3 separate regions of the Homo sapiens genome follow, and regions 1 and 3 are each linked to region 2. The links are contacts of gene promoters, found by promoter capture Hi-C in blood cells and fetal thymus (Javierre and others, 2016). All regions are on one chromosome and are shown on one strand. Each heading gives the region's core, a stretch centred on a gene start or on the middle of the fragment in contact. The rest is flanking DNA. Distances are from core to core; before and after follow the strand shown. Region 1 overlaps ADAR (adenosine deaminase RNA specific). Region 2 holds the start of ADAM15 (ADAM metallopeptidase domain 15). Region 3 overlaps ADAR (adenosine deaminase RNA specific).

Region 1 (2,911 bases), core at 124-2,623, 460 kb before region 2:
CAGTAGCCAGTACATACGGAAGAATTCCAGATGCTGACAGTGCTCTGAAGGCTCTGAGGCAGCTATGACGGAGGACCACAGGGGACACCTCCTGGGACAGCAGCAGCAGGGGAGCCCAGACATGGAGGAGGACAGCTGGAGTAAGTGTTTCAGGCACACAGGACAAAAGCAAAGGCCCCAAGGCAGCCAGCGGATTGGCTGTTCAGGCGCCTGACAGAGAGCCAGTGTGGACAGAGCATATGCGAGGGATGGGGAAAGTGGCATGAGAGGAGGCCGGGTGATCACAGCAGGTTTTGCTTGTATATGCAGTGCAGTGGGAAACCACTATCGGGTTTAAAAAAAAACAAAAAAAAATGCTTTACTGAGATATAGTTCATATGCCATACAGTTCACCCATTTAAAGCATACAATTCAGTCATTTTTAGTATATTCACAGAGTTCTGCAACTGTCACCACAGTCAATTTTAGAACATTTCATCGCTCCAAAAAGAAACCTTCTACCCATTGGCGCAGTCACTCCTCATCTCTCCAACTCTCCCACTCCTGGCCCTGGCAACCACTCATCTACTTTCTGTCTCTATGGATTTGTCTATTCTGGACATTTCATATAAATGGAATCATACAATATGTGATCTTTTGTGACTGGCTTTTTTCATTTGGCATCAAGTTTTCAAGTGCATCCATATTGTAAGCATGTATCAGCACTTCACTTCTTTTTATGGCCAAAATAATATTCAATTTATGGATATATTTGATGTTTTATTTATGAATCCATCAGCTGATGGACGTCTGGGTTGTTTCCACTTTTTTGGCTCTTGTGAGTAATGCTGCCATGAACATTCACATATTAGTTTCCGTGTGGACACAGATCTCCATCTCTCTGCAGCATATACCTAGGAGTGGAGCACCGGCTCCATGGTAACTGTGTCTATACTTTAGGGTATTTAGCAAGGTTTCAGGACCACCATGATGACTGCTGACGTGGCCTGAACGCAATGGAGTGGATGCGAAGAGACAGTAAGGAGACAGGAGAGGATAGGAGAGAAGGAGCCAGTGGACAAGGCAGAGTCAACTGCCAGCTAGACAGGAGGGGACCCCAGCATTTGGCATCCTCATCTGTCAACTCCTCAGGGCTTGGTTGTGCCGCACTCTTCATTTCCTCCCCGCTTTCTTGAGGTAATCCTATGCATTCTCATGGCCATGAAGACCCTATAGGGGGATGACTCCCATATTTCTATTTCCAGCCAAGCTCCCTCCTCTGAGCTCCACATGGGAACCCCCACCTCCTATTTGACTTGGGGATCTCCCAGATCTCCCAAACTAACACATTCAAAATAGAACCCTGATCTTACCACACAGCTCCCTGACCCAGGTCTTCCCTTTCCTGTAAACAGCACCTCTGTGCCCAGTGACTAATGGTAAAATCCTAGCAGCCTTGTAGAGACTTGGGGTCCCTGGACCTTGCAGAGCCTTTTGAGGAAAGGAGGCGGGGGCATGTATCACTCACCGTTCTCCACCTTGGTGCGGAGCTTTCCTTGTTTGGGATTCTCGAAGACAGGGTAGTGGCGGGATTCTGTGCTTTCCATAGCACGGTCGCTGCAGGACTTGTCAAAGAGGGCGCCATCTCCACACGGAGCAGTGCTGAAAAACAGGGGTGGCTGTTAAAACTCACCTGTGGGAAATCTGCAATTTCGTGGGGCTCCAAAACAGTCAGATGTGACAGAAGCAAGGGATGTTTTCTAAGGCCTACCATGGGAGACTGGAGGTGGACAGCAGTACATGTGAGTCATCTACACCTGAATATGGACCTCAAACCCACAGTGGAGTGTGGCTTATTGTATCAGGTTCGATTTACAGGCCAGGAGAGCATTTGGATACCCAATTCTAACAGCCTGGCAGGGCCCACCCTGGCAGCAACAGGAACTGTACAGACCTGATATACAGATGGAATGACACAGTCTTTTTTATTTGGAGCTTTTCTCCTCCCTTAGCAGGTTCAAATATACTATCCTTCGCAGTCTGGGAGTTGTATTTCATTAACTCACTGTAGAGAAACCTACAAAAAGAAAGTCTGGTTAGGAAGGCAGGTTCAATTCTGGGAAAAGCAGTTGTTTCTATAATCTGACCTCCAAATGAGAAAGTAAGGAAAAGTCTCAATGTTGCAGACGTTTCACAGTTTATCAGGTGGAAATTCTCCAGGGGAGACCTCAGCATTTCATAAAGCATAGTTAGCCTTTTGGGTCTCCTTCATTTCTGCTGAGGGCTCCTCGCTATGGCGGCTACAGGGATTCTAGAGCAGAGCAAACTGATTCAAGGACTACAGGAAGCTGTTGCTCCTTTCTAAGTCTCTCCCTTCATAAATTAAAGAAAAGGTGAGCTAGAGGAGAAAGCTGGCAGGGGCATCAAGGTTGTGTAGGTCCTCAAACGGAAATGGAAAGCTGCCTCATCCTCAAGGCCCTGAGGACTAAAAGGTCATTTTGTGTTTTTAGAAAAGAACATGAAGCAGCAGAGTTAGCAGAAAAAAGGACAGCATTTAAAAACAGGCCGAGCAGTGGGAGGCAGCTCAGCTCACAGAGGGGATGGATTCCATCAGACAGGTTCAAATGGACGGGTGAAAAGCAAAGGCTGCCACTGCCACATCATGACCCGTCTGTCTGAGGGGGATTCAGAGGCCGTGTCAGAGCCATGTGGGGCAGGGAACTGGAGCTCTCCACAGCCGGGCAGCCGGGCCACAGCTCTGACCTCGCTCACCTGATGAAGCCTCTCCGGGAGATTATTTCTGCATGGCAGTCATTGACAGTTTCTCCTTTTAGGCTGAGAGAATCTCCTTTCACACAGCGATTCCCTAGGAAGGTGTTTAAAACAGAAATAGAATAATGGAAGGAAACCGATGGAAAACAGGATGAAGGCT
Region 2 (3,417 bases), core at 125-2,624:
TCAGGAGAAACTGGCTCAGAAGAGACAGCTCTCAGGGAGGGCTAAAGTAGGAAAGAGGCTAGAAAGGGACCAGGTGAGGGAAGGCTCTGAAGGCCAAGCCCAAGAGTTCTGCCTGTCTGGCAGGCAGCAGGGCCTCTGGAGTTTCTTGGGCAAAGAGTGGCTGCTTCCTGGGTAAGGTGGCCTGTGGAAAATCCCTGACAACTGTGTAGAGACATGTCGTGAGGGATGGCAGGGAGCATAGTGAACTAGGTTTGTGGTTTGGAATCAGGGCCCCTGGGGTCCAGCCAAGTTGGATTGTTTACTATCTGTGTGACTTTGAGAGTCACTTCACCTTTCTCAACTGTAAAGTGGGGATAGCAACAGTGATAGTCGATCTGGCCTGCTCACTTCTCAGCCTCACTGTGAGAACCAAATAAGATGATTTACAGGAAAGTGCAAATGAGAGTTGTGGCTGATATCCGCTTGGAGAGAGCCTGGAGGGTGCATCCTCCCATTCTCCATCACAGAGTTGGGGAGGGAGGCACCCTCGCCCTCCAGGGGTTTCCTTTGTCCAACCCAGCCTCCTCCAACACGCGGGAATTGTCAGGCCTGGCGACTTCAGACAGGAAACGCTGTCCAGTTCCCCTTCTTTCCCGCCTCGCTCCCGGGCTGGCGCTAACGCCCACCTCCCAACAGCGCCACCCGCTGGCGGATATCCTGCACCGCGGCTGCCCGCTCCTGCGCCGCTGGCTGTGCCGGCGCTGCGTGGTGTGCCAGGCACCCGAGACGCCCGAGTCCTACGTGTGCCGGACGCTGGACTGCGAGGCCGTGTACTGCTGGTCGTGCTGGGACGACATGCGGCAGCGGTGCCCGGTCTGCACGCCCCGCGAAGAGCTCTCTTCCTCCGCCTTTAGTGACAGCAACGACGACACTGCCTACGCGGGGTGAAGAGGCGTCCTGCTCGCTCTTCCGCACCGTCCTTCCCGGTTAATAAAATGCCCTGTACGCTTCACGTGGGTCGGGGACTGGGGTGAGCCGCGCACTGCCTCGCCTGCAGTCGGGAAAGCCTGCCCGCCCGACCTCTCCGAGCCAGGCCGCGCACAGGAGGCAGGGAGGCCGCGAAGCTACTAGGGAGGGGTCCGGACCTGGCGCCGGGTGAAGGCGCGCCGCCCAAGCCGGTCGGACCGGGCACCGGCTCCCACTCCGCACAGTTGCGGGGAAGCGGTAGCGCTGAGCAGCGCGGGCGTAGTGGGCGGTGTCCCCGCTCCCGAGGCACCCGGCGCGCAGCGGGGCGGGCTTTGCCGGGGGCGGAGCTTGGCTTGGGGCCGGGTGGGAGGGGGCGGGCCGGGGCGGGGCCTGGTGGCCGCGCGGCGCTGCTGGGTTCTCCGAGGCGACCTGGCCGCCGGCCGCTCCTCCGCGCGCTGTTCCGCACTTGCTGCCCTCGCCCGGCCCGGAGCGCCGCTGCCATGCGGCTGGCGCTGCTCTGGGCCCTGGGGCTCCTGGGCGCGGGCAGCCCTCTGCCTTCCTGGCCGCTCCCAAATATAGGTGAGTCCTCCGCCTGGAGTGGGTCGGGGGGCGGACTGGGAGGGAGGTGCAGGAAAGTCGGAAGGCATTAGGGTAATGGGGCCGGACGGAGACCCTGGGAGAGCCCAGCCAGAGCGCGGCCCGCCCTGGTCCGCTGTCCTGGGCCTAGGGCCCGGTGACTTGGCGATGGGGTGAAAAGAGAAGGAGGGGGGATGCCGGCGCCCCCTGCCTCCTGCCTGGTCATCCTCTGCGCGGTCCCTGCGGACACTTTCAGGCTCAGGTACCAGGTACCGAGGGGCCTGTCCAGCGCCACTTCAAGATCGTGATGAGAGGGTCGCTGCTCCCCAGGACTGGCATCTTCGCTGCTCTGGGGCCTAGCTAACCGTTCGACCCGGTGCCAGGGCGCTGAGCGGGCATGGCTTGTAGGGTTTAGTGAAGAGGATTCTCTCTAGCCTCTATTCCAGGCCTGGGGCCGCCAGGCACTCCTCACCCTGGTGCTGTTGCCACCAGTGCCTGGCCGAGCGGGAGGGGCCCGAGATGAGCCAGGAGAAGGGAGAATTGGCCAGGAAAGAGGCTGGGACACCAACTCCTCCTTGGAACTTTCACTTCCCGCTGCTGTCTTGGGCCGGGACCGAGAGGGCAGGCGCGGGTGGAGTGTCCGGAGGAGAGAGGGCCATTGTGTGTTGGGGGGGTGGGGGGTGCTCGAGGAGGAAGCAGAGGCTGTAGGCAGCGGGTGTGCCTGACTGGGCATGAGGGTGTTTAGGGAGGTGGGGGTGTTTGCACTGCTCACCCAGAAATGGGCGTTCCTGGCATCTCCGATGTGAGCGAAGGGGAGGGTGAGCGGGCACCCGGCCACAAGGCTTAGCTCAGTCTCGAGAGGGGGCGTTCCTGAAGTGGGGGGAGAGTGATTGGGAGGGAGTGGGAACCGGGGAGGGTCCTGTGAGAACCTGGGATTGGCCGGAAGGGGACAAGGAGGGCCACAGGCTGCGCAAGCCGAAAGTCTTTCTTGGGGACTTGTGAATGGGTTGGTGGGTGGAAAGCCATAAATTAGAGAGACACCCTCTCCTTCCAGTATTCTTCTTTAAGTCTCAGCATGCAATGTGGAAGCCCCTCAGGTACCTAAGGGTCTTGATGGGCTGGGAGCTGGTGGATCTGAGGGCACCTGTCACCCCCAGCCCTGCTGTCGATTCCCTCAGTACTGTCTTGGGGTGTCCTGGGACCTGCAGGTGGCACTGAGGAGCAGCAGGCAGAGTCAGAGAAGGCCCCGAGGGAGCCCTTGGAGCCCCAGGTCCTTCAGGACGATCTCCCAATTAGCCTCAAAAAGGTGCTTCAGGTGAGCTCTCACTCCCCTCTAATAAATAAACGAATCCACACACGCCCCGGTATAGCCAGGTGTCTCAAAGCCAAAGCTTGGCTGAGGAGCTGGTGGGTAGAGCTCACTGTAGTGGGTCTATCCCAGGCCCAGCTGCCTCTCCCACCACACCCCAGCACCTGGCTTCACTTATCTCCCTCTCCCTCTGCACACACGTGTATCTGTCTGCCTCAGCCCCACCCAACCCATCCATCTCCACTGGGGAAATTGTGAAGCCAAACTTGCTTTCTTCATCTCATGTTGTCGGTTTTCTCAGTGGGGGGATTTGGAAAGAGTCAGGACCTTACCAAACCCCCCCCCCCCCACCCCATTCTAAAGCTGAGTCAGAGGAAGGGCTGGGGCTTGTGCTGGGTCCTACACGGTGCTTCCTCTCTGGGCAGGAAGCCGAGAAGGGGTGGCTCAGATACCTTCCTTGACCTCCGCACACAACCCCCCAGAACAATGCTCCAGGCCAGGCAGGGTTTCCTGGCCCCTCCCCTGGGATCCCCCCACCAGTGATCTAATTGCTGGTGCTCTTCTGTGGGCCTGAGGTTTTCTGGTTA
Region 3 (3,019 bases), core at 56-2,555, 450 kb before region 2:
AAAAACAGAATAACCTGAAATAACCAGAACAATCACATGAAATAACAATAACCAAGGGAGATGGGACTAGGGAAGGGACGAGATGACCTCTCCTTAAGTCAGGCTCACCAGTGCACCCCTTGCCCACCTGTCTCTAAGATCTATCGTTTAGATGACTATGACAAAAGAAGAAATGTGATTGGATGAAACTGAACCCCAGTCCTCCAAGGCTGTAACAGCGCAGTAACGAAAACAATCTCCAGGTGGGAAAAGGCCACGGGACCTCAGAGTCATCTCTGTGGCTCTTCACTGCCATCCCAGGAGGATCAGAATTTGGTCTTCAGGGAGCTGGAGGGTTTCCTGATAAAAATGGCACACTGTCCTCACTCTTCAGTGTGGTACCCAGGCTCAGAAGGGATGCCAGAGACTTTTGCCCAAACCACCCAGGCTCTCCTGGATGTGTGGAGCTGGCAGCATCTGCTCCTCACCACCTCAGACCAGTCCTACCTTCCCTAGCTACTTCCCCATAGCTGCTTCCACTGCACGTTCTTCTGAACCCTGACGGACAGGGCACAAGCAACCCCATGTTCTCATATGCACATTTACCAGAACACCAAGCACCTGTGACCCCTTTCCCCACCCACCCACCTGCAAACCAGTACTGTCTTCTCCCCAGGGCTGTTCACTGGAGGGTGATGGAGCCAGGAAGTACTTATAAGCCTGGGGGTGTCAGTAAACACCTTGCTTCCTTTCCCTGGGGCTTGTAGACTGGGAGGAGGGATTCTGACAACATTTACTCACACTCACCGCCCCCTCCTCAGACTCTCCTGGAGGCTGCACAGGTAGAGGTGGGACCCTTTCTTCCATAACTCTAGCCTTCTACTCTTCCACATCCTGACACACTTAGGGGATTTCAGCATTCTTGTCAATCACTCTCATGGTGTCCTGGCTACAAGGATCCTTAACCCAGTGATCTCCATCCCTACCTTTCTGCCACACAATTGGCTTGTCTAGCTACTCCTTCAATCTCACTATGACTCTAACCTAGGCCATCACACCAAGACCTCAAATCCTGCAACTCTTTTCCAGTGGCTGATAAACTTTTTCTATAAAGGGCCAGACAGCTCTGCCACTGTAGCACAAAAACAGCCTCACACAATATGCAAAACTTTATTTACAATTCATTTACCATGAAGCTTTATTTATAAAAACAGGTAGTTTGTACCTGTGGGCCATAGTTTCTTGACTCCTGCTCTTTTCTGATGGTGACTTCCCTGTGTTTCTACAACTTCACTCCTTACTCTGGTGGAACCTGCTCCTCGCATGACCCCGGTGAAGCTGCCAGTAAGCCACCCTGATTCTTCCCCACTCTGACTTCACACACCTCCTCACCCCACCTGGATCTCATGGTCAGTTCCCTTCTCCACCCAAGGCCCACTGTCCCCCTTTTCTTCTCCAAAGCTTCCCAGTGGTACTGGAGAAGGACCTTGACTTGTGCTAACAGGGTCCATAAAAATTCCTTCTCTTGAACCTCATTTGGGTCTTCGCTGTGTGGTGGTCAATTGTGTTTAACAAACATGCCTTAGTTCACTGTGGATTGAGTACTCTTCTTTTAAAAAATTCTCCTCCCAGGGTTTGGTGACACAGCAAAGGTCTTTCACCTCTTTTTTCTTCTTTGTCCCTTTTTCCCACCCCTTATAATTTTTTAATAGCTACTGTATTAACGGATCCACCCTTTATATAATCAGTCTCCAAGGTTTTAAGGACCTCTTCTTCCTTTATAATTTATTTCCTAGGTTGCTTTAATCACTGCCCCAACCTAAACTAGCCCTCTGAAGCAAGAGCACTCAAATCTACTATGTCCAGCCACTACCTTGTGTGGGAGCTTAAGATCTGAATTTCCAACTATGTCGACAGTCTGTCCACTTAAATATCCTGCCATAACTCAAACAGCACATATTCTGAACCAAATTAATAGTTCCCTCAAACTCAGCTCCTTCTCCTGTAGTTCTTATTGCTAATGGCATCACTCTCCTCCTAGCCTATTAAGGCTAGAAACCTGCGTCATCTTTGCTGCCCGCCTCCTGGCCTCATCTCCTGGATCTCATCAGGTAGTTGCCAAGTCCCACCTTGTCTGCCACCTCTGTACTGTGTCTTAAATGTGTTTTCTTCCAGTTCCAGCCCCTCATTACCTCTTACTGGGCCATTGCAAAGGCCTATAATCTTTCTATCCCTCTACATGCCAATCCAGGTGGCACATCTCCCTCCACAGCCACCTATCACAACTCTGACCCTTTCCTTATAGAGCTCCTTAAATGCCACTTGCTTCAGGAGACTCCTGACTCCCACCTTCTTCAGCCCTTGGGGTTTCCTCTCCTTGAGCTTCTCCTACTCAGCACCTGTTAAACCATTTACTTTCCCTCGTATCAGAGCTACTGGATTTTTTTTTTTTTTATGGCACACACACATTGCAGTGTCTGAAAGGTAATTAACATTAGGTGTCCTATAAGTTATACTCAACTCTCCACTCTCAATATTCCCAACACAGTACTGATGAGGGGCTTCAGTTGATTCCATGGTGAGCTCTTGGGGGTCAAGGACTATGCTTCAATCATCTCAACCTCTCTAGCACTTGGCACAAAGCTGATTCTCAACAAACATTTGTTGAATTAATGACTGCATGAACAAGACGCCACTATGCAAGCAATCATTTCTTTCTTGTTCCTCTTGCTGCACCCTCACGCCCACCATATTGCTAGGGACAGAGGCAAATGTGTGTACAGAGTGAGTGCTGGCTCCCAGAGCTGAATTATGGGACTTAGGGGTTCTCCTATTAGCTCTTTGAGTGACCTTGGGAAAAAAAAATTGTGTTTCAAAGTGGCTAGAGTCAGTTAAAAGCTAAATGTTTTTTAAACTGCTACTCTTGGCCCAAATCTGGAAAATATTTTAATGTCTGTCTATAGAAGAATTAAATTATGAAACATTCATTCTATGGAATAGTACTCACACGGTTATTTTTTTTCTTGTGAGACGGAGTCTC

What was found. The method cuts DNA at HindIII sites, captures the fragments that hold promoters and counts their contacts. A CHiCAGO score of 5 or more calls a contact.
Region 1: a contact is called between a fragment that was not itself captured here and the fragment with the promoter of ADAM15 in region 2, in 1 of 17 cell types (naive B cells). The highest score is 5.6, in naive B cells.
Region 3: a fragment that was not itself captured here is called in contact with the fragment with the promoter of ADAM15 in region 2 in 3 of 17 cell types (naive B cells, erythroblasts and total B cells); the score reaches 7.5 in naive B cells.

Annotation. Positions count from the first base shown.
Region 1 is chr1:154,586,618-154,589,528 of GRCh38, forward strand. It overlaps ADAR (adenosine deaminase RNA specific), which reads right to left. Exons shown (of 15, transcript NM_001111.5): 9 at 2,752-2,845; 10 at 1,934-2,056; 11 at 1,508-1,641. Among named protein-coding and RNA genes, the nearest start is that of ADAR, 20 kb to the right of the region's middle. RefSeq lists an enhancer at 2,083-2,911. The HindIII fragment of the contact is 3,100 bases long and covers 1-2,911 here.
Region 2 is chr1:155,049,942-155,053,358 of GRCh38, forward strand. ADAM15 (ADAM metallopeptidase domain 15) reads left to right here and starts at 1,375. Exons shown (of 23, transcript NM_207197.3): 1 at 1,375-1,524; 2 at 2,730-2,836. The coding sequence starts at 1,446. It overlaps DCST1 (DC-STAMP domain containing 1), which reads left to right. Exons shown (of 17, transcript NM_152494.4): 17 at 676-989. The coding sequence ends at 927. The region is part of intron 1 of DCST1-AS1 (DCST1 antisense RNA 1); the gene reads right to left. ADAM15-EFNA4 (ADAM15-EFNA4 readthrough) reads left to right here and starts at 1,375. Exons shown (of 26, transcript NR_176418.1): 1 at 1,375-1,524; 2 at 2,730-2,836. RefSeq lists an enhancer at 550-609 and a silencer at 1,080-1,539. The HindIII fragment of the contact is 11,546 bases long and covers 1-2,910 here.
Region 3 is chr1:154,603,018-154,606,036 of GRCh38, forward strand. All of the region lies in intron 1 of ADAR (adenosine deaminase RNA specific), which reads right to left. Among named protein-coding and RNA genes, the nearest start is that of ADAR, 3.7 kb to the right of the region's middle. The HindIII fragment of the contact is 265 bases long and covers 1,174-1,438 here.